Regions from separate parts of the Homo sapiens genome. Here all the other regions are linked to region 6. Evidence: promoter capture Hi-C in 16 types of primary human blood cells and fetal thymus (Javierre and others, 2016). All regions are on one chromosome and are shown on one strand. The core of a region is centred on a gene start or on the middle of the fragment in contact, and the rest is flanking DNA. Distances in the headings are between cores, read along the strand shown.

Region 1 (2,700 bases), core at 160-2,659, 290 kb after region 6:
TATGTTTTGAAATAGGTGCATGGTATTTAAGAGATTTGCCTTCCAAAATTTTGTTAGGTATATTACCATAAAAACTGGTTTGCATCCCCAGGACACACACACATTTCAAAAGTATATCAGGAAAATTCAAAATTGGATTTGAAATTTGTTGTGGATAACCTTGGATTGGCACTATTAATGATTAAGCAAAAAATTAAAAAAATGGTTTATCTGAGTTTTTTAGAGCTGATTTTTGGAGATATTAGTATAAAAAAACTCTAGCCTCATCCAGTACCAATGTAAAATTATTAGAAGGCAGAGCTCCCCTCTGACAGCAAAAGATGTTTGGCACTGACTGACCACATGTTTTCTGCTACAATAACACTCTATACTATGTTCACACTCAACTCCCTTTCTATGGTTAGGAAGACCTTTCCAGGGTTCTCACTTGCACCCTGGAAAGTTCAGTTAGCCCCATTTCTATTATCTTCATTCAACAGATATGAGTCCCAATTCCGCTCAAGAGCTGAATAAAAAGCACTTAAATGTTAATGTCACACTGACCCACCTTTAGGTCGACCACGAACCCTTTGTCAAAGAGAGAGTCATTAACACCATTCACAAGCATACATCTAACATATCTCCTAGGAGACCATTCCACAAAACATCCTTTTAATCATGTAAACATGGAAACTTGAGGTTCAAACCTACTGTGTTTTGACTGCACCAATCCCAAGTGGACCAGCGGCAGCCCTACCAGTGCAATGAGAGAGAAACTCACCTTGTCAATGAAGGAGGCAAATTGGTTGTTGAGTGACTTGATTTGCTCCCTTTCTCGAGACTTCACCTTTTGGATCTCAGGGTCAATCTCCACATTGAGGGGCTGAAGAAGGCTCTGGTTGATAGTGACTTCTTGTATGCCACCAGGAGGGCAGACAGGACCATAACCACCCCCATATCCACCACCCCCAAAGCCACCTCCACCAAAACCACCACCACCACTGCCAAAACCACCAAAGCCACCACCCCCAATGCCACCTCCACCAAAGCCACCACCACCAAAGCCACCACCACCAAAGCCACCACCACCATAACCACCACCAAAGCCACTACCACGTCCACCTCCTCTAGCCACACTTATGGAGATGCTTTTACTGCCACCAAGGTTAACAAGACTCCGACTTCCAAATCCACCACCAGCACCAAAGCTACCACCACCACCACCACAGCTTGAAAATCTCCCACCACCTCCTCCACTGCGGCGTGTGGAGCTGCTGGTGGTCCTGCGCTGGTAGTTGATGATCCCAGCAGAGCCAGAGCTGAAGCCCCCTCCACTTCGGTACCCAGACCTGGAACTAAACTGTCGACTCATGTTGACTTAGAGAAAAGTAGGAGCAAGGTAGAGTAAGGGAAGGAGCTAAACACTCCTCTACCCCAAGCATAGAGACTTCCCCTTATATACAGGGAAGAAATTGGGCTTGGTCTTCTAGAGTCAGCGGAGATGCAGTGCCTGTCAAGGGTTTGGCTTGCCTGCAGCCATACAAGATTTTTACGAGCCTCAACAATACGATAAACACTACACACCTAGCTCCCAGGATGGGCTCTCAAAATTGCTGTGCATGCAAGATTGGTTCATGTGGTAATTATTTTATCACACAAGATCTTCCTTCAAGCATTTGTGGCTTTGGGAAAACAGGACCCCACATCTGATACCTGGTGTTTCTTGGTAGGATTTCATAACCCCCATCAAAAAGGCATGAAAGTTTCTATTCTCACCTTGCCTTTGTGAGCTACCAAGCACACTCTCTTACCATGCACAGCAGGTGCAATTCCCCGTGCTTGGATCTCAGAAGGAGCTCTCTGGCCCATTTCTAAGATCTTCTTTCCAAACTCCAGAGCTCACTCAGTTACAACCTGACAAAGAGAAAGGGCTTTAATAACTAAAAAATTAAAAGGTCTTTCATAAATATAAGCTTTATAAATATACCACAGTGATTAATTAAAGGAAGAGAAGCTGTCATTGAACAAGATGGATGAGTGGGTGGTCTGGAAGAACCAGAAGGGAGAGACATTTTTTTTCTCTGTTTCTCAGTTATTCCTTTTCTTGTTTCTTTTCTTCAAAGATAGAGCAGGAGACAGACACCAGCAATAGAAAACAGGTAGCAATGGATAGCATGCAAACGCCCTTGAGTGAAAAAGCCCACAGAGCAGTGAGACGAGTAAATAGAAGCTCTAGGACATTTTGTAAAGCACAGGGGTGGAGGTGAGGCTTGATAGGTGATTCAAGCCTCACACTGGACTGCAAAGAGAGAGAGATAAATGCAGATTTGGAAGGGAAGACAATGAGAGGTGTCTGGAGAGCCTTATATGAGAAGTTTAAATTGTTTCTGGAGGTGATAATAATGATAATACCTAACATGTATCAAAAACTGACCATGTACCAGGCACTGTTCTACGTAGCACATATGTATTAACTTGCTTAATTTTCACAACTTTGAGATAGATGCTATTTTTCTCCCCATTTGTAAAATGAGGAAGCAGAGACACAGGGGTTGAATAACGTGATCAAGTCTACACAGTTGGTAAGTGGGGTGCCTGCGATTTGAAGCAAGAATACCTAGCTATCATGTGCAAGATCCTAAACAGCATGTTGTACGACAGCACAGCAGCCGAATTCAAGTCATTCTGCCTGCTGTGTGTAAAGCCAGACAGCACAGGAAG
Region 2 (2,700 bases), core at 58-2,557, 400 kb after region 6:
CAGCAATCTGAGTTCCAATCCCTCACTGCCAGAACATTCTGTGTAAAGCTTGCCAGATGGCTGAGCACCCTGGATTTTTATTTCCCCACCTATAAAATTGGGGGCACTAAAACCAAGGAGTTATTCCCTCTAACCAAATTGCTCTCTGGTAGTCAACTGCAGTGAGAAGACTTCAGATTGCCTGTAACATAATTATGAGTGGAGGAATGCATCATGAGACAGTAGTCATTATCCTTGGCCAAAGTGAGCAGTCATCCCTCTCCACCACCATCTGCTGAGGATGAGGGAGCCATGGCTGCTGCCTCTTTCTCCATGGAGGTTCGCAGATCCCATTTTCAAGATAATCACCAATTTGTTCTCAAAAATAAAAAAAGAATAATTAACGTTCTGGGTATGCTGCCCCTGGACTAGGAATTAGCATTCTTTTCTTGTTGAAATAAAAGCTTGTCACTAGTGAAGCAATTTTAACCAATGAACAGTAAAAATAATTACCATATAGAGCAAGATTTATAGTGAAAGCTTGATAAAGAAGCAAACATCTAAGTACAACTAAGTCCTTATGTTACTAAGGTCTTAGCTGTTAGCAACCACAATTTGTTCTGATTCTGGTCTTATCTCTACACTTGATTAAAATACACACCAGCTCACCCCTCATTCTTTATCTGGTACTTGGATCTCTCCCAGGGCTTATGCAGGGCAGAATTCTATCTCCCAAGATGGCCCTGATTAAAAGGTTCTGTGATTACATAAATTTGGGAAATGAAAAATCTATAGCTCTTTCCTGGGATTTTAGTAAAGTTGTTTAGTATATTAAAAGCCCAAAGAAGTCCTATAGAAAATAATGTCTTTGCCTTAATTTAATCACAGCTTCCCAAATTTAACAACAAAATCTTTCTATCTTAACATCTACTAACATGCTGTCAAGTATACTCGGGAAACGCTAGTCCAACTAGCCATCCAGGATGGATGAGAATGTGCAGATAGACCAGTGCAGATAGACCAATCAGAGGATTAGGGCATAAGGAGACATCCTCATTCCTGGAGAAAGAGCACTTGCTCCAAGTGAGCTCCTCATCCCTGGAGAGAAAGCACTTGCTCCAAGTGAGATAGCAGGAAACTGAGAGCAGACTAAGGCCTGGGGTTGAAGATGCAGCAAGAAGGGCACTGGGACGCCGAAAACTGAACAGGTTCTCTAAAGACAAGCTCTCCTGTCAATGAATATTTCTCACCAATAAATGGATTTGGCTGAATATTTCCAAAAACCGTGGATATTTCATGGGCATGCTGGATTTTCTGGAACTCAAATAACTTCATCTCCTCCTCTCTTCCCTTGCAGCTTGAAAGAGTGGAAAATATGGAAGCCTTGGAATTAGACGAGCCTGTGTTCAGATCCCAGCCTTGCCACTTTCCAGTTGCATGGCATCAGGCAAGACATTTTACCCTCTGGACCTCAGTTTCCCATTCAGCAAATGGGAGTTAGCACAGCCTCCTCATAGAGTTGCAGTGGGGACTGTAGGAGGTAAAGTTGGAAAACCCTTACACAAAGCAGGTGCTCAACACTTGGCAGCCCTTGTGATGATGATGTCAATGTAGGAAGCCCTCCTAGAAGGTGTCAGTTTGGAAGCTGAAGAGGAAGGAGGAGTTCTAAGGGGTAGCCCAGTTTAGGGTCAAGGCAACAGTGAAGTCTTTGATTATTTTGCAACAAGTTGCAAAGAATCATACTGTCTGTATTGAGAATTACATAAAAGCCATTTTCCCATGTCTGGCCAAGCCATTTTCCCACTACAGGGCCTCGTCAGTAATGCAATCTATCAATCAGCAAATACTTATTGATCTACTACATACTTTTTAGAGGTGTGGGGACTATGTTTCAGTGAAAACAATTTCCTCTTTCAAATCTTAACTCCTATTGCCCATCTGTGAATAGAATTTTAAAACAGCTAACATTGACTGCCTAACATATACAAGTCACTGACAGGTTGTTTACATGTGTCATTTCTAATTGTCACAAAAACTTTGTAAGGTAGGAATTTTCATTCACATTTTACAGATAAGGGCATGAGGTTAATTAACTTGCCTCAAGTCAATTCACTTGCAAGCTTGGATTTTAATCAGACTGTCCAATCCCAAAGCCTGTCGTAAATTCGTGAATGCTTTTCTTCTGCATAGACTTTCAGCAAGTCAAATTACACCATCCCAAAGTGAAAAGTCCACTTTGACATGTAAAGAACCCACCAATATTCTCTCCACCTGACCACCACATGATAGGTTGGACACCAGCCATGTGCAACCTACCATGCTAGCCAGGGCCACCAAGGCACTGGTCAGGACAGTCTCTCAGGGACAGAACACATGGGTGTGCATGGAATTTATAGATGACAAGAGCCGCTCCATCATCTGCAATGTAAAAGGTCTTCACCCTGTTGGAGAAAGAGCAAGAGGCCAGGAGTTTGCGCTGAGCTTAGCTGCTTGCTGGGTCTTAGATGTTGGAGTTGACCACTTGGCCCACAGGAATGATTAGCCACAATCTTCTCTTTCACTTTTTTTTTTTTTTTTTTTTTTTGAGACGGAGTCTCACTCTGTTGCTCAGGCTGGAGTGCAGTGGCACAATCAAGGCTCACTGCAACCTCTGCCTCCCAGGTTCAGGAGATTCTCCTGCCTCAGCCTCCCGAGTAGCTGGGATTACAGGCGCCTGCCACC
Region 3 (2,700 bases), core at 32-2,531, 320 kb after region 6:
TAAAAGGTGGTTTTAATGTGCAGCAAGTTTGGAGACCACTGACCTGGAGGAAACAGGACAAATGAAACAGCCTCTTTAGATTCCATTCAGTCTAAGGACACAGATAGGAGTAACAATCATTATCATAATAGTGAACTTCACCAGGTGATTTCCATGGACCATGCACTGTGCTGTCTATAACATGGAAGGTCTCGTGAAATCTAAATACCAACATCATAAGGAAGATATTCTTACTATGTTCATTTTGCAAATGGAGAAAGTGAGACTTGGAAAGAGAATCTTGTCAAAGAATACACTAATGAAAATAGTGGAATGGAGATTTGAACCCGCGCATTCCCACTTCAGAACCTACATGTATTGCAGAAGAGATGGGGTCGTTGGAGAGAGATGTGCCCGCTTCCTCCTCTCCCCACCTGCCACCTTAAAAGGAAAGTGGGAAGTTAGTTGAAGGCTGCAGCTCACCCAGCCCATCTCCCAGTTACTGAAACCCAGGGCTGCCAAGAAGGTGAGGCCCAGAGCAACTATCAGCCACCTGGATCACAGTTCCAGACAGCAGCGGGAAGCAGGGTTCAGAAGAGCTGCTGGCATGACCAGCAGGAGCAGCTCCCAAAGCTCTATCCCCCACCTCACCCTACATTTCCCAGGGTCTGGAGGTGGATATCACAGAGGTGTGTCAGGGGCGTGGGGCTGGAAAAAGGAAGGGAGAGAGACTCTCACTCACCAGTCCCCACCAAGAAGAGAGTGGAGAGCTGCAGCCCCGGTCTAGGAATGGGGGCCTTTAACCTCCTTGAAATGAGAGCCTTTTGACCTGTCGTCAGCACAGGGGAGGCAGTGATGTGACACATATCGGAGAGAAACCTATTGGAGCTGAATAGAAGCTGCTAGACTTGGCTTCCCCACCCTTGGCCCACTCTTCTTCCTGCGTAACAGCATCACAGCCAAACATATGATGGACGGTATCAGCCCAGTCCTTCATTTTACAAGGAAGAAATGGGTACAAAGACAGGGACTTGGCCAAAGTTACCCAAAAAAGTTGGTGGTGCAGATAGAATGAGAACTTGGCTACCCTCCCCCGAATTCAGAAAGAATAAGGAGGCCTATGTGAAATTCCCAGGTGCCTCTGTGCTCCTGCAGCCTGGGAGAGATGACTATATGGGGCGTTCCACCTTCAATCTCTAACAAGCCTGCACGCAGGCATGAGAAGGTGGTGCCAGGCACACAGGAACATCCCTGGTGAATCCTCTGATTTCTGGGTTGGGGTGTGTGTTTGGGGCAACACCTAGGGCCTTAAGCTCCTACTGAGGCCCAAAACTAGCCTGGACACCACTTTGACATCCCTTTAACTAGAATCTCAGTGTCTGCCTAGAGCATAAGAATCGGGCAGTCTCCTTCCTTCTCGGCAAACCCAATAGGTGCTTTTGGGCCTGGATATTGTCTAGAGGCCTCACTAAGGGCAGCTTGCAAATTCCCACGGCAAAGGTCCAGAGACAATATTGTGCCAAGCGTGTCAAAGCTCTTCCATCCAACATACTGGAAGTCATGACTATTTATACAATCATTTATTTATTTATTTATACAACCATTTATTTGTTTATAATTCACCCAGGCTGAAATGCTCACTGCAACCTCCACCTCCCGGGTTCAAGTGATTCTTGTGCCTCAGCCTGGCAACTCTTTTGTCTCTGAAGCAAAGGGAGCAGCTAGGCAGGTGTGGCCCCAAAGGAAAATAAGGCTACAGGTTAGACTTGGATTGAATTCCAAAAGAAACAGTGAGGTCCCAGCGGAGGAATGGTGCTGTCTGGGCAGAGAATGCTTCTATATGTTGGATCAAAGAGGACGGGCCAGTCTCAAGGTTACAGGGGTAGTTAGTGGTGGGGTGGGACCAGCATTCCAAGTCCCTGAGGGTAATATGAGACCTGCCATCAATTCCAGGTTCGTGTCTCACTTGACCATGATGGGAGAGATTACAGTGCTTTATAACCATAAGGAATTTGCAGTGTATTATTCTCTTCATTTAAAGAATAGACAGGTTCCTGAAACACTGGCCATAATTAGTAATGACCTTTTATTGAGCTCTTACAATGTGCCAAGAATTAAACAGATGACATGATTCCATCCACACAACTGCATTTTACTGATGACTTTTGGGTGAGGGGTCTGGAGGGTGGCTCAAGGTCACACACTCCTGGTAAGGAGTGGGCCCAGATTACACCTAGCAGCTGGGTTCCAAAGCCTGAGAGTTTCTTGCTGTACTATCTTATCTTCTGCTTTATGGGGCAATTTAGGAGGGCTTTGAGGTTAGGCCTTCTGGAGTTTGAATCCTGGTGCCATCCCTTCTAGTTACATGACCTTGGATAAGTTCATTCATCTCTCTGCGCTTTCATTTCCTCTTTTGTGAAGCAGAGGCCATAACACTGCCTACCTCACAGGGCTGTGAAGATTAGATGGGTTAATTCAGAAAAAGCTCAGCACATGTCAGGCAAATAACAAGAGATCATCTACTTTAGCAATTATTACATTATTACAAAAGTAAATTTCTATTAACCAAACTGCATTTTCCATCCAGCTTCCCTTAAATTAGAAAGTCACCATAAGCAGGAAACTGTGGCCCTGTAATATATTGTAAATCATATAAAAGATGCAGACAAGCTTTTCTTTAATCATCTATTTAAAGGAAGATGGCAATTTATTGATGAGTTT
Region 4 (2,700 bases), core at 80-2,579, 280 kb after region 6:
CCCAGGGCTGTTAAGGCATCAGACCAACTGCTCCTCCTATTCACATCCCTGCAGATGGCCAGGAAAGGAGCTAATAGGGTGGTTACAGGGGCAAGATGGTCCAATCCTTGTTTTATCAGACTCCTAGTAACCACAGCTTGATGACTGTCCTGCTATAGGACAGACTGCATTTGCCCAGGTCCTGCCAGCTGTGCACCCCTCCATGGTGCCACATGGCAGGTCAGAAGTGCCAATGAGGTGGCATGAGGCTCCTGCCACACCACCTTTCCTCAAAGCCTTATGTCTTCATCATGGAAACCTTGTTTATCCATTACCAAGCCAAGAGAGAGGATTACTGAGAAGAAGGCAGCCAAAAACAGGGCACTCCCTTTGGAACCCAGCGGGGTTTCTCCGATCCCAAGCACACCTTAGTAGTTAGCACAGTGTGAATGAAGACAACCAAATGTTCATCTGTGAATGCTAATAATGAATGGTTACAACTACAGGATCAGCTTGTTCTTCCTTCAGGGACATGGAGGCAGATATCATGTTCTCCATTTGCCTAAAATGCTCTTCCAGCTCCACCAGGTGTAGAACAGAAGGAAATCAACTGTGCTGGCATTAGCAGAAACTTAAGACTGATAACAAGAGGGACTAACCAACTACTCCATTGCATACAGAGTAGGAATGTGGAGGGTAGGAATGTCTGGGTTGTTGGGTCTGGAAAGCTAAGCTAAGAACCTGCCTTGCCACACACTTTCCCACTGTCCATATAATTGAGGTTAATTAAGGACCTAGAGCTAGGGAAGGGGCAAGATGGCCTCACCTCAGACCTTGTCTCATGCACACCTCTGCATGCAGACAGGTGACTACAAGCCAAGATGGAGCTTGCCTCACGGGATCTTCTTCCCAAACAAGAGTTCCCTTGCATTGGAACTGGTAACATCCCCAGGGATCCCACCTACTTCACCCAAATTACCATCAACCCACCCTCCAAGACCCAACTCAACTCAGATGTTCTCTCCCCTTGACTGATGACCCTGGTGTGATGTGGCCCCCTCCTTCCTGTATTCCTCCAGTGCTTACTCTGTCCAGTTCATTGACCAACAAAAACTCACTAATCACTGCAGTAGAATACACATTCTGCTGCATCCTCAGGATGAAAAGGTAAAGAAGACACAGTCCTTGTCCTCAAGAAATTCATTATTCCATAGGCACTCATTTCTGTGGAGTAAATATACCTACCATGGTTGATCTCAAGCAATCAACACGGTGTTACTGAACATGGAGTTAGGAACAAAAGCAGGCAATTGGCTTTCATAAGCTGGTGCGGGAGGGTTCCAGGACACCGCTGGACATCATATGCCAGAAGCAAGGAAACATAAATGGAAAAGTGAGGCAGGAGTCAAGGAAGGAGGAACTATGAACTGGCTTTTAAAGGATGAATTCGAGTCTACACACAGAAAAGGGAGAAAGGAACTCCAGGAAAATGGAGAGACATTTGCAAAGACCTAACAGCATAAACATGTGTAAAAGTTTGGTGTATTTGGAGAATGACAGTACCCTCTCCCCTAAGCCTGACCCAGATGAGAAACTGGTTGACACTCAACCTCTAACAGATGCCCATGACAGGTGTCCTGTGCACGTTCTCAGCCGGGACTCTGATGGCCCTGCCACCTGCCTCCAGCCTGCCTCCATCCAGCTCACCCCAACAGGGCCCGGCCTCTGTCCCATGCAACCTCAGGAGAATCTTCTCTATGTCTGTAGGTGTCTGGGCAAAGGACAGCTGTCTTGAGGAGAAATCATACCAAACAAGGTTTTAAACTAAGGTCAGATGTCCTCATGCATGTTTAATCATCCTGTTCTATATTTGGTGACCTTAAGGACAGGTCTTAAAGAGATGACACCCAGTCTTCTATCCCAAAGGCCACTCGTCCCAAGGGCATAGCTGGCAGCACCTGTCTATGGCTGTGGCTGAATTTCGACGGCCCTTTGCTCATCTCCCTAGTAAAAAGTAAGGCACTTGCTGAAGTCAAGAATCCCAGGGCATCCCTAGAAAGACCTCAGAGGCGAGGCCATCCTGACTTAGCTTTCCCTGTCCAGTTCTCCTAGGACCTACTGTTGTGACATCCACTTTCGCCCCATCAGAAATTCTCCACTGGTGAAGCATGTGATAGACTATATTCCCACCCCACCCAGGGACCCCACTTAGGAGAACTGCTACCCCCTGAGGTCTTTCCTAAGAGATTGGGCCCTAAATCCTCCCAGTCCCTATCCGCTCACCTTGCTAGTTACTTGTCTCGCTAGGTAGGTATGGTCACCAAGGGCCCTCCCTGGCCCAGGATTGGTCAGACATAGCTACTCCTGATGGCCAGTTGAACTCAGCCTGCCAGAGACAGCTCCATTATAACCCCTTTACCGAAGGAAATATGGTCTAGGCAGGTGAAAAGACACCCAGTAGAGCCAATAAATGCACATTTCAGACCTTTGAATGTGCTTTTCTAGGACAACATTCCTCACCCAAGGGGCCCAAAATGAAGGACCCCATGTGTTGTTTTGTTGCGGGATTCTTAACCCATTTTGTCGGAAATAATCAGAAATAAATAAGGCATGCCCCCCACCCACTCACCCATTTAGGACAACACAAATCATTGGAACAGACATACTTGCAGCTACCTATATTATGTTATTAATGCCAGGACACAGGCAGGCAAAATGGGA
Region 5 (2,736 bases), core at 187-2,686, 410 kb after region 6:
GCATGACCAAAGCTATTTAAATTCTCTGCATTTCAGCATCATTAACCATAAAAGATGATCAATCATCTCTGACCCTCTAGATCTCACAGGAACATAGCTAGATGAATGAAATATCTGCCAGTGTTTTAAGAAACATATCACAAGGCCAAATGTGGTGGCTCACGCCTGTAACCCCAATACTTTGCAAGGCTGAGGTGGGCAGATTGCTTGAGCCCAGGAGTTTCAGACCAGCCTTGGAAACATGGCAAAACACCATCTCTATGAAAAAAATACAAAGATTAGCCGGGTGTGGTGTCATGTGCCTGTAGACCCAGGTGCTTGGGAGGCTAAGGTCGGAGGATCACTTGATCCTGGGAGGTCAAGGCTGCACTGAGCTATGATTGCACCATGGCACTCCAGCCTGGACAACAGAACAAGACCCTTCTCAACAAAAGAAAAAGAAAAAAGGAAACATATCACAAAAATTAGACCATATTTTTCCTTATAATATCTAAGAGAGCAGGATGGAGGACCTGCCTTTATGCCAGACAGAAATGAGGCTGCTGCTTGGTCTGGTGTGGGGTCTAGAGTCCAGGGCAATGAGTCTCTAGGAATTCCTAAACCCATAGTGATTCAGGGTACTTAGTGCCCCAATGGGGGGAGATCTTAGTCATTGCCAGAGCCCACTGATTCTGAGCCATGCTTGTCATTCCTTTAGAGGGAATTATCTTGGAGAAGAATCTTTGAGAAGCAACATCACAACCACTGCTGTCATCAGCTAGTCCTGGGTCGGGGACCTCCCCAGCAGATGGTGGAAGAAAAAGGAAGAAGGGCATAATCTATACTTACTCTTGGGGTTGGGATAGCAGAGAAGACATGGCTTGACCTTTGAGAGGACAGGGAGCAAAACAAAGATTGGGGAATACATTCGTGGGACTAGATTGTCAATTCTGATCAGAGCTGTGAGTGAAGGAAGTGGTGGAAGGGGAGGAGATAATCAGTGAGTTGAAATTCTTATTGGTTGGGCCCATCCCTCTAAACTTGTAGGGCCTAATAAACACTTTGAGAAAACAGAGTTGGTTTACAGTCATCCCCAACACTTGAATTATCTGAAGTTTATTAACTAAGCGCCCTAAGTGTTTACTCCCTGGAGAAAAGAGTGAGTCACTGGATTGCAATGTGTAAAATCGAGACTCATAGGGTGCTACGGCCAGGAGGCTCTCCAGTCCACTCCTCTACCTCGAGGCAGAATTCACCTGGCCACTCCTACTCTTCAGGATCCCCATGGAAGGCGATTCATCAAATCTCCTAACTTGCCCAGGCCAGCAAGACCCCACCCTGACCCAAGGAAGGTCTTCAAGGATCTAGCTTTCGTGCCTTCCACTCCATTTCATGGGAGCCTAACTCCTCTTAAAGGATCAGTGAAGTTGTGGTCAGCAGCAGGAGGCCCAGTCACCTGTCCGTCATGGCATGGCACCCATACCTCTCTGCTTGTGAAGGCCCCTTTTAACACACAAAAAATTACATTGACCTTCACACATGTCAGAACTCATACTTCCAGTATCCTTTGAGAATATACATTTTTTACTATGAATTTAGCAACACTTTTAAATAAAAGTGCAGTTCATAGTCATATACATTTGAAAGTGGTAATACATATACATAAAAAGACACATTATTCACTCAGTCGAGAGACACTTGCATCCATGTGCATTCTCAGAATCCTTGCAGTCCTGACACAACAGCAACCCTAACTGGGGCCTCTCAGCCTCAGGTCTCAAGGTCCTGCCCCTTCCACGGCTGGACACCTGCCCCCAGCTGAGATTCCCCACTGAGCACTGTTACCACCTGTCTTCCCTGCCTTTGTGTCCATCAGCCTGTGGCCCTGGCAGGCCTTCAGCAGATGGGAACTGAGTTGCGATGAATTTGCTCTTGCCTGGCCTTCCATAGTAAAACACACACACTCCCCTGGTTTCTGTATCACAACCCTTCCAATATTAGAAAATACTGTGGAATTCACAGACACCAACCTCCCAGTTAGATAGACCCAGTTGTTTCTCCCAGTCCTCAGTACAGATGGTTTCCGGGAATCTTCTCTGCACCCACTTTAATATGTTAATGGACCTCTTAAAACTACAGTGCCTTGCTAAGATAGGATACTTAAGGTGGCTTCATGTGCACCAGAACTAATAAGAAGCCCCTTCCTGTCTGTGATGGGGGCACTGTGCTTCTTTCAATGCAAGCTAAGATTCTGTTCCCTTCTTTAGCTCTTGACTTCCATCAATCCTGCCTGGGGAGGAGGAATGGTAAGGCATGGGTTTGTTGGTGGTGGGGGCAGGGGGTTGTTTTTGTTTTTTTGTTTTTGTTTTGAGAGAGAGAGAGAGAGCCCCTCACTCTGTTGCTGAGGCTGGAGTGCAGTGGTGCAATCTCAGCTCACTGCAACCTCAACCTCCCAGGCTCAAGCCATCCTCCCACCTCAGCCTCCCAAGTAGCTGGGACACTGGCATGCACCACCATGCCCAGCTAACACTTTTTTTATTTTTTTTGTAGAGACAGAGTCTCTCTATGTAACCCAGGTTGGTCTTGAACTCCTAGGCTCAAGCAATCCGCCCACTTCAGCCTCCCAAAGTGCTGGGATTATAAACATGGGCCACCATGCCAGCCAGCTTCCTAGTTTTAAATAACTCACTTCCTTGTCCTGCTGTAAGAATAAACTGAAGGGACAGCATTCACAAAGCACTTACAGAGAAAATAAAC
Region 6 (2,700 bases), core at 29-2,528:
TCTCCACATAGACATGGTGTGTGGGATGTCAGTTCTTTTGGGTTATCCACATCACTGTTCCCACTCATCTGCCTGGAAGCCAGTGACTACCAGTGGTCATTCCCTGCAATTTCCCTGAATCTAGGCAACTTGGCCGAATTTTGATACCCCATGTGGGGGTATGAATTCTTCTTCTTTTTTTAATTACTCAACTCCATTCTCTACTTTTCTAAGCCTGAATAGATGAGGCCACTCAGCCTCAGAAACTATGAAAACTTCATAAGGAACAAAAGGATCTCAAAGAATAAAACCTCTTAAGCATATACCAGCCAACACCTGGCTAAAGTCCCAGTGTTTCCAGCCTGTTTCAGAGACATTTCTAAGTGACCAGATGCAACATCTTAGTTTGTCGAGATGCCCTCGAGTTTGGCTGGATGCTCCTCTGTCCTCCAGAAGATATCAACACTGTCGGAATCTATCCCACCATGCAGCTCGTCCTCTGGCTTGGCCTTGCTCTGCAGCAGAGCAACCCATAAAGCATACCACAATGCCTGAGGTAGGCACTTGAAAGATCTGAGGTCAAGGTCAAGTCCCCAGAACCGGGCCAGTTCTTTTTAAGGGAAAGAGCACTCTAGCGCATTTTGGCTGTAATATTCCTAGACCCAGAGATTCAGCTATCATAGGTACCTTGTCAATGAAGGAGGCAAACTTGTTGTTGAGGGTCTTGATTTGCTCCTTCTCATCCTTCTTCACCCTCTGGGCATTGGGGTCAATCTCCAGGTTGAGGGGGGTCAGTAGGCTCTTGTTCACAGTCACAGCTGTGATAGATGGGGCTGCTGGGACTCCAACCCCTCCAACTCTGTAACCAAAGCCAGGGCCACCAAAGCCATAGCCAATGCCACTGCCAGCTCCAAAGCCCAGACCAACACAGCTGTCAGCCCTAGGCCCCAGACCAACACCTCTCCCATCACCAAAACCCATCCCACAGCCAGCACCAAAGCGGACTCCACAGTGGATGGGCCGAGAGCCTACAGCTGCTATCCGGGGTGAGTACGATCCAAAGGTGATGACACTCCGACTACCAAAGCTGCCAAGGCCCCGGAATCCAGGCCCACTCCAACAGGAGACAGAGTTGGCCCGGAAGCGATTCAGGTTCTGTGGTGTCATTGCTGAACAAGAGCTGAAGTTGCCCACCCGGTGACCAGAGCTGACTCGGTAGGAGCGGCAAGACATGATGGCTTCCTGGTTGGGAGCAAAAGAGCAAGTGTAGAATGGGTGAGCTGGAGCTGGGAGTCCCTCTGAGGCCAGTGGAACCCTTGCACCCCTTTTATGTGTGTGGTGATCTGAGGCTTGGCCCCATAAAAATGAAAAAATCCATTTGCAGGCATTTATGAGCTTGGGTAGTTAGCAGAAACTCTGCATGCCTATAACCTCCTTGACAATGAGTTAACTCAGACACACCTAGTCTCATTGGGATGAGGGCTGTAACAGCAAACCAATAAACATTAAAAACACATAAACATATAAACATTATAGTCTTTTTTTTCCCTATAAGTCTACCACAATTGCCATTAAGGGGACATTAATTTGCTTTGGTCATAAATGCAATAGGTTTTTTCACTGTGAGTGTGGCTAACCACCAGAAAGTTAGGATGGCGACAGCTCCAGCAAGAGGCTCACATGGGATGCATCCATGAAGATATAACCCCCTAAAGAGGTGGGAGTGTGTGCACATCTCCAAGTAAGAAGTGATATGGAGAAAATACAGTTTGTTGCATTTCTGCAAATCAATTAAATCATCAAAAAACCTTCTGCCATGTTTTATCCAATATGGCTGTTTAGTATACAAGAGTTGAATCTACAGTAAAGCTCATTTGGGCTAGTGTAGACACATCTGTGATTTGAGACACTCAGAGATATTCATTCATTCTACAGTTTTAGAGTGCCTGCTATGTATCCAGCAGTGTGCTTGCTGCTGAGGGTACAGAGATTACAAAGACAGTCTCTATCTTCATGGTAGTAGGGGAAGATTTATCTTAAATTTTTTTTTTTTTTTTAGAGACATGATCTAGTTGCCCAGGCTGGTCTTGAACTCCTGGGCTCAAGTGATCCTCCCGCCTCCGCCTCCCAGATAGCTGGGACTACAGGCATCCACCACCATGCCCAGCAGAACATTTATCTTGAGGATTTCCAGCAGTCAACACTTTGTGGCATGATTTGAGGCCAAAGCATTGGAAAGTTTCTGTATAGAAAGCTAACTACATGATTTTTAGCCCCCAAATATACCATAGGTGTGATTTATGGGCCTGTCCATTTAGGTTCCTTGAATTATTGATGAATCTTTGGTTAGGATAGAGAGACACAAAGCAATATACATCTGGATAGAAAAGGAAAAGTTCTCAGCAGCTGAATATTATCATTGTTAGCAATATTGCAGCTCTTTTAGGACCCTGAGCCAGGCTGGTGTTTACCTTTTCTATTCTAGTGCATCCTTTGCCCAGGGGAACTCATGTTTGACTGGACGCTTGAGATTCTTTGGGATGCTTGCAATTCCACTTGGAAGGGGATGTATGCTTTTGACCAGAAGCATCCAGCTCATTTGTGCGGTATTTTCTTTTTCCAGCTATCAGCTGTATGTCTAAGGGGGAAATGAAGCAGAAAAACAATAAGAAGTGCATACTTCTCGTCAAGACCACCAGTGGCCTCCATGTTAAATTCAAT
Region 7 (2,700 bases), core at 20-2,519, 430 kb after region 6:
CCTTACAAGTACCCAATAAGGTATGACACTGTCCTGAGGGGCCAGTTTTGTATCCTCCAATTAACTAAATCCAAATTAATTTCATGACAAACCCTACCATAAACCCAATCCAAACAAGAAGAAAGTTCTAGTCTAGAGCCACATTCTGTGTCCTTATTATTAAATCAGAATTGCAAGAAGCTCACAAAATCTTCAAACTGAGCCTGAGAAACCGAAGGTAGACCTAAGGAAGAACTTCCTATGCAAGAGCGCCTTTACACCCTAGAGTGAGAGAGAAAGAGAGATGAGTTTCTTTCCCTGAAAACGGGGAAAGACATTGCCTTCATATGTGGGCCAGAGGCAGGTGGCTGAACAAGGCGCCACTACCCAGCAGCCACAGCTGGAAGCTTGTCCCCTGCCCCTCCCCAGACCTCCACACGCAGATTCTGCTACTGCCCTCGGTGACCCTTCCTTGTTTGGCAGCTGTTCCCAATCTTTTCACAGAGGGATGAGCAGCCGACAGGGGTGTGGAGCCAGGCGGAGGGAGTGTTTGCTCAGGGCTTTCTGGGTAAGGGAGGCAAGCCCTTACATTCAGCCCTGGGATTAAGGGATCCTGAGGGCTTCTGTCACTCTCATCTCCAAACCCACTGTGTGGTGTGGGAAAGTGCTCCTGCCCTCCCTGGCCAGGCGGGCACCCTCACTCCATTCGGTCACCCAACCTCAACTGCCCCACCGGGCCTGAGTCATTCTTGGGGAACCAGAGACAACACGGGGATCAGAGATTCTGCAGAAAAGGGCCATCAGCGTTTTAGGGAGAGGCCAGTGAGGGCAATGAGAGGACGGGCACTCCTGAGAGCCAGGTATGGGGGTCTGTACCCAGGGGCTCCTCTTTCCCCGGGCCGGAGAGCTGCCCCTGCTGGCCTCCTACCCCAGGCATATACAGGCAGGGGCTTCCCAGCATGTTCTGGCAGCAAAAGCACCCTCATAAACAAAATCACGTGCACAGCCTCATGAGTAAAACAGATAAGGAGAGATGATCCAGTTGGTGCAGAGGAGGGACCATGATCCTTCTCACCTGCTGACCTCCCCCTGCACCCCTGAAAGCAGCCCTTAGGGTCCTCAGTTTGGAAACCCCTGGGTCTGGGCCATTCCCCTCCTTCGACAAGTATGTCTAAGCAGCGCATTATTGTTGGTGGGCCCCCCTGGGCTGCAGTATAATCTCTGAGGCTTTTTTCCATGACAATCAAAAGTTTCTATTGTTCAGTTTTTGAGCCCTAAATATAATTTTTTTGAGACAGGGTCTCCCTCTGTCACCCAGGCTGGAGTGCAATGGTGCAATCACAGCTCACCGCAGCCTCAACAGCCTCAAGTGATCCTCCCACCTCAGCCTCCCAAGTAGCTGGGACTACAGGTATGCATTATCAAACCCAGCTAATTTTTGTATTTTTTTGTAGAGGCAGAGTCTCACCATGTTGCCAGGCTTGTCTTGAACTCCTGGGCTCAAGTGATCCACCTGCCTCAGCCTCCCAAAGTGCTGGAATTACAGGCAGGAGCCACAACACCTGGCCTATGATCTCACTAAAACTGATTTTTTTTTTAACACTGCCACTAAGTTACCGTGGCTTTGGATACATTCTTCCCCTTCCTCAACCTGTTTTCTTATCTATGAAATAAAAAGTTTGGAGTCGATTACATCCAATGCCCCTTCTAGCTCCAGCATCCCCAGGTCTCCATTCCTTTTTCTATATAAGCAAAATAACCTGGTGCTTAAGAGCTTGGGCTATGGAACCAGATTGCTTGGATTCCACACCTAGCTCTGCTACTTCCTAGCTGTGTGACCTTAGGCAAGTTACTTAACCACTCTGTGCCTTATTTTCCTTATAGGCAAAATTAGAATGATAATAGTATTTATATTATAGGCTGTTGTGAAGAGAATCAGTTAAAGGCTTGACAGCAGTTCTGGCACACAGTTGGCACTCAGTGAGCATTAGCAAGTATTCCTCAAAGTGTTGTACATGGGGTGGACTATACTCCATCTGTCTGAGAAGGGAAGCTAGAGACCACCCAAGCTGGTGAGGCAGAGCTGACCCTAAACCGCTAGGCCTTTGTGTTCCTAAGCTGGAGGTTAGGGTTTGGCTGAAAATCCCTCTGCTGGCCTTCCACAGCCCTGGAGGAAGCTTTCTCAGGGCTCTTCGGGGCTCCTCTGAGGAGGACAGAGTGATCAGGCCGGAAGAGTGTGGGATGCATCCCAGCAACTGCCAGGAGCCCTAAGGTTGCCAAGGAAGGGAGCGGAGTGGTGACAGCCTCGGGTCGGGCCAACTGGTTTGGTAGCAGGGTGGGGAGGGCCTGAGAGGTGCAGGGTTGAGAGGCCAGCCAATTGGGGAATCACTTGGGTACAGCTTGAGGAGTGGGGTCCAGACTCAAAGTAGAGAACTGTGGAGATGAAGAGGAAAGAAGGTGATACCAAGAGACGCATGGAGGGAGGAGCAGTAAGATTTGGCGAGTGATGGAGGCAGGAGTAGGACGGAGGTAGCTTCTGGGGTGACAGGACAGAGGGCTTGAAATTGCAGCCCTGGACACTACTGACCCACCTCCAGCCAGCTGGATGACTACAGCATGAGAGGTCACTTCTGTGAGCGTGAATCGCCTCACCTGTAAACTGGAACACCACATGCCCACTACTGAACCTAGGGCTGTGGTGATGGTCACAGGCAAAGTAAT

The links. The method cuts DNA at HindIII sites, captures the fragments that hold promoters and counts their contacts. A CHiCAGO score of 5 or more calls a contact.
Region 1: the fragment with the promoter of KRT1 here is called in contact with the fragment with the promoter of KRT84 in region 6 in 2 of 17 cell types (M2 macrophages and M1 macrophages); the score reaches 6.4 in M2 macrophages.
Region 2: a fragment that was not itself captured here is called in contact with the fragment with the promoter of KRT84 in region 6 in 3 of 17 cell types (endothelial precursors, total CD8 T cells and M2 macrophages); the score reaches 6.3 in endothelial precursors.
Region 3: a contact is called between a fragment that was not itself captured here and the fragment with the promoter of KRT84 in region 6, in 1 of 17 cell types (endothelial precursors). The highest score is 5.6, in endothelial precursors.
Region 4: a contact is called between a fragment that was not itself captured here and the fragment with the promoter of KRT84 in region 6, in 1 of 17 cell types (M1 macrophages). The highest score is 5.6, in M1 macrophages.
Region 5: a fragment that was not itself captured here is called in contact with the fragment with the promoter of KRT84 in region 6 in 3 of 17 cell types (non-activated CD4 T cells, endothelial precursors and M0 macrophages); the score reaches 6.6 in non-activated CD4 T cells.
Region 7: a fragment that was not itself captured here is called in contact with the fragment with the promoter of KRT84 in region 6 in 3 of 17 cell types (endothelial precursors, total CD8 T cells and M1 macrophages); the score reaches 5.6 in endothelial precursors.

Annotation. Positions count from the first base shown.
Region 1 is chr12:52,678,998-52,681,697 of GRCh38, forward strand. KRT1 (keratin 1) reads right to left here and starts at 1,410. Exons shown (of 9, transcript NM_006121.4): 1 at 761-1,410. The coding sequence starts at 1,351. The HindIII fragment of the contact is 12,025 bases long and covers 1-1,950 here.
Region 2 is chr12:52,780,381-52,783,080 of GRCh38, forward strand. No RefSeq gene overlaps it. Among named protein-coding and RNA genes, the nearest start is that of KRT76, 4.4 kb to the left of the region's middle. The HindIII fragment of the contact is 1,580 bases long and covers 518-2,097 here.
Region 3 is chr12:52,708,587-52,711,286 of GRCh38, forward strand. No RefSeq gene overlaps it. Among named protein-coding and RNA genes, the nearest start is that of KRT77, 6.4 kb to the left of the region's middle. The HindIII fragment of the contact is 2,732 bases long and covers 1-2,647 here.
Region 4 is chr12:52,662,991-52,665,690 of GRCh38, forward strand. No RefSeq gene overlaps it. Among named protein-coding and RNA genes, the nearest start is that of KRT2, 12 kb to the left of the region's middle. The HindIII fragment of the contact is 6,496 bases long and covers 1-2,700 here.
Region 5 is chr12:52,798,190-52,800,925 of GRCh38, forward strand. No RefSeq gene overlaps it. Among named protein-coding and RNA genes, the nearest start is that of KRT3, 3.4 kb to the left of the region's middle. The HindIII fragment of the contact is 5,805 bases long and covers 1-2,736 here.
Region 6 is chr12:52,384,374-52,387,073 of GRCh38, forward strand. KRT84 (keratin 84) reads right to left here and starts at 1,279. Exons shown (of 9, transcript NM_033045.4): 1 at 667-1,279. The coding sequence starts at 1,212. The HindIII fragment of the contact is 9,508 bases long and covers 1-2,700 here.
Region 7 is chr12:52,818,110-52,820,809 of GRCh38, forward strand. No RefSeq gene overlaps it. Among named protein-coding and RNA genes, the nearest start is that of KRT4, 5.3 kb to the left of the region's middle. RefSeq lists an enhancer at 110-611. The HindIII fragment of the contact is 1,770 bases long and covers 385-2,154 here.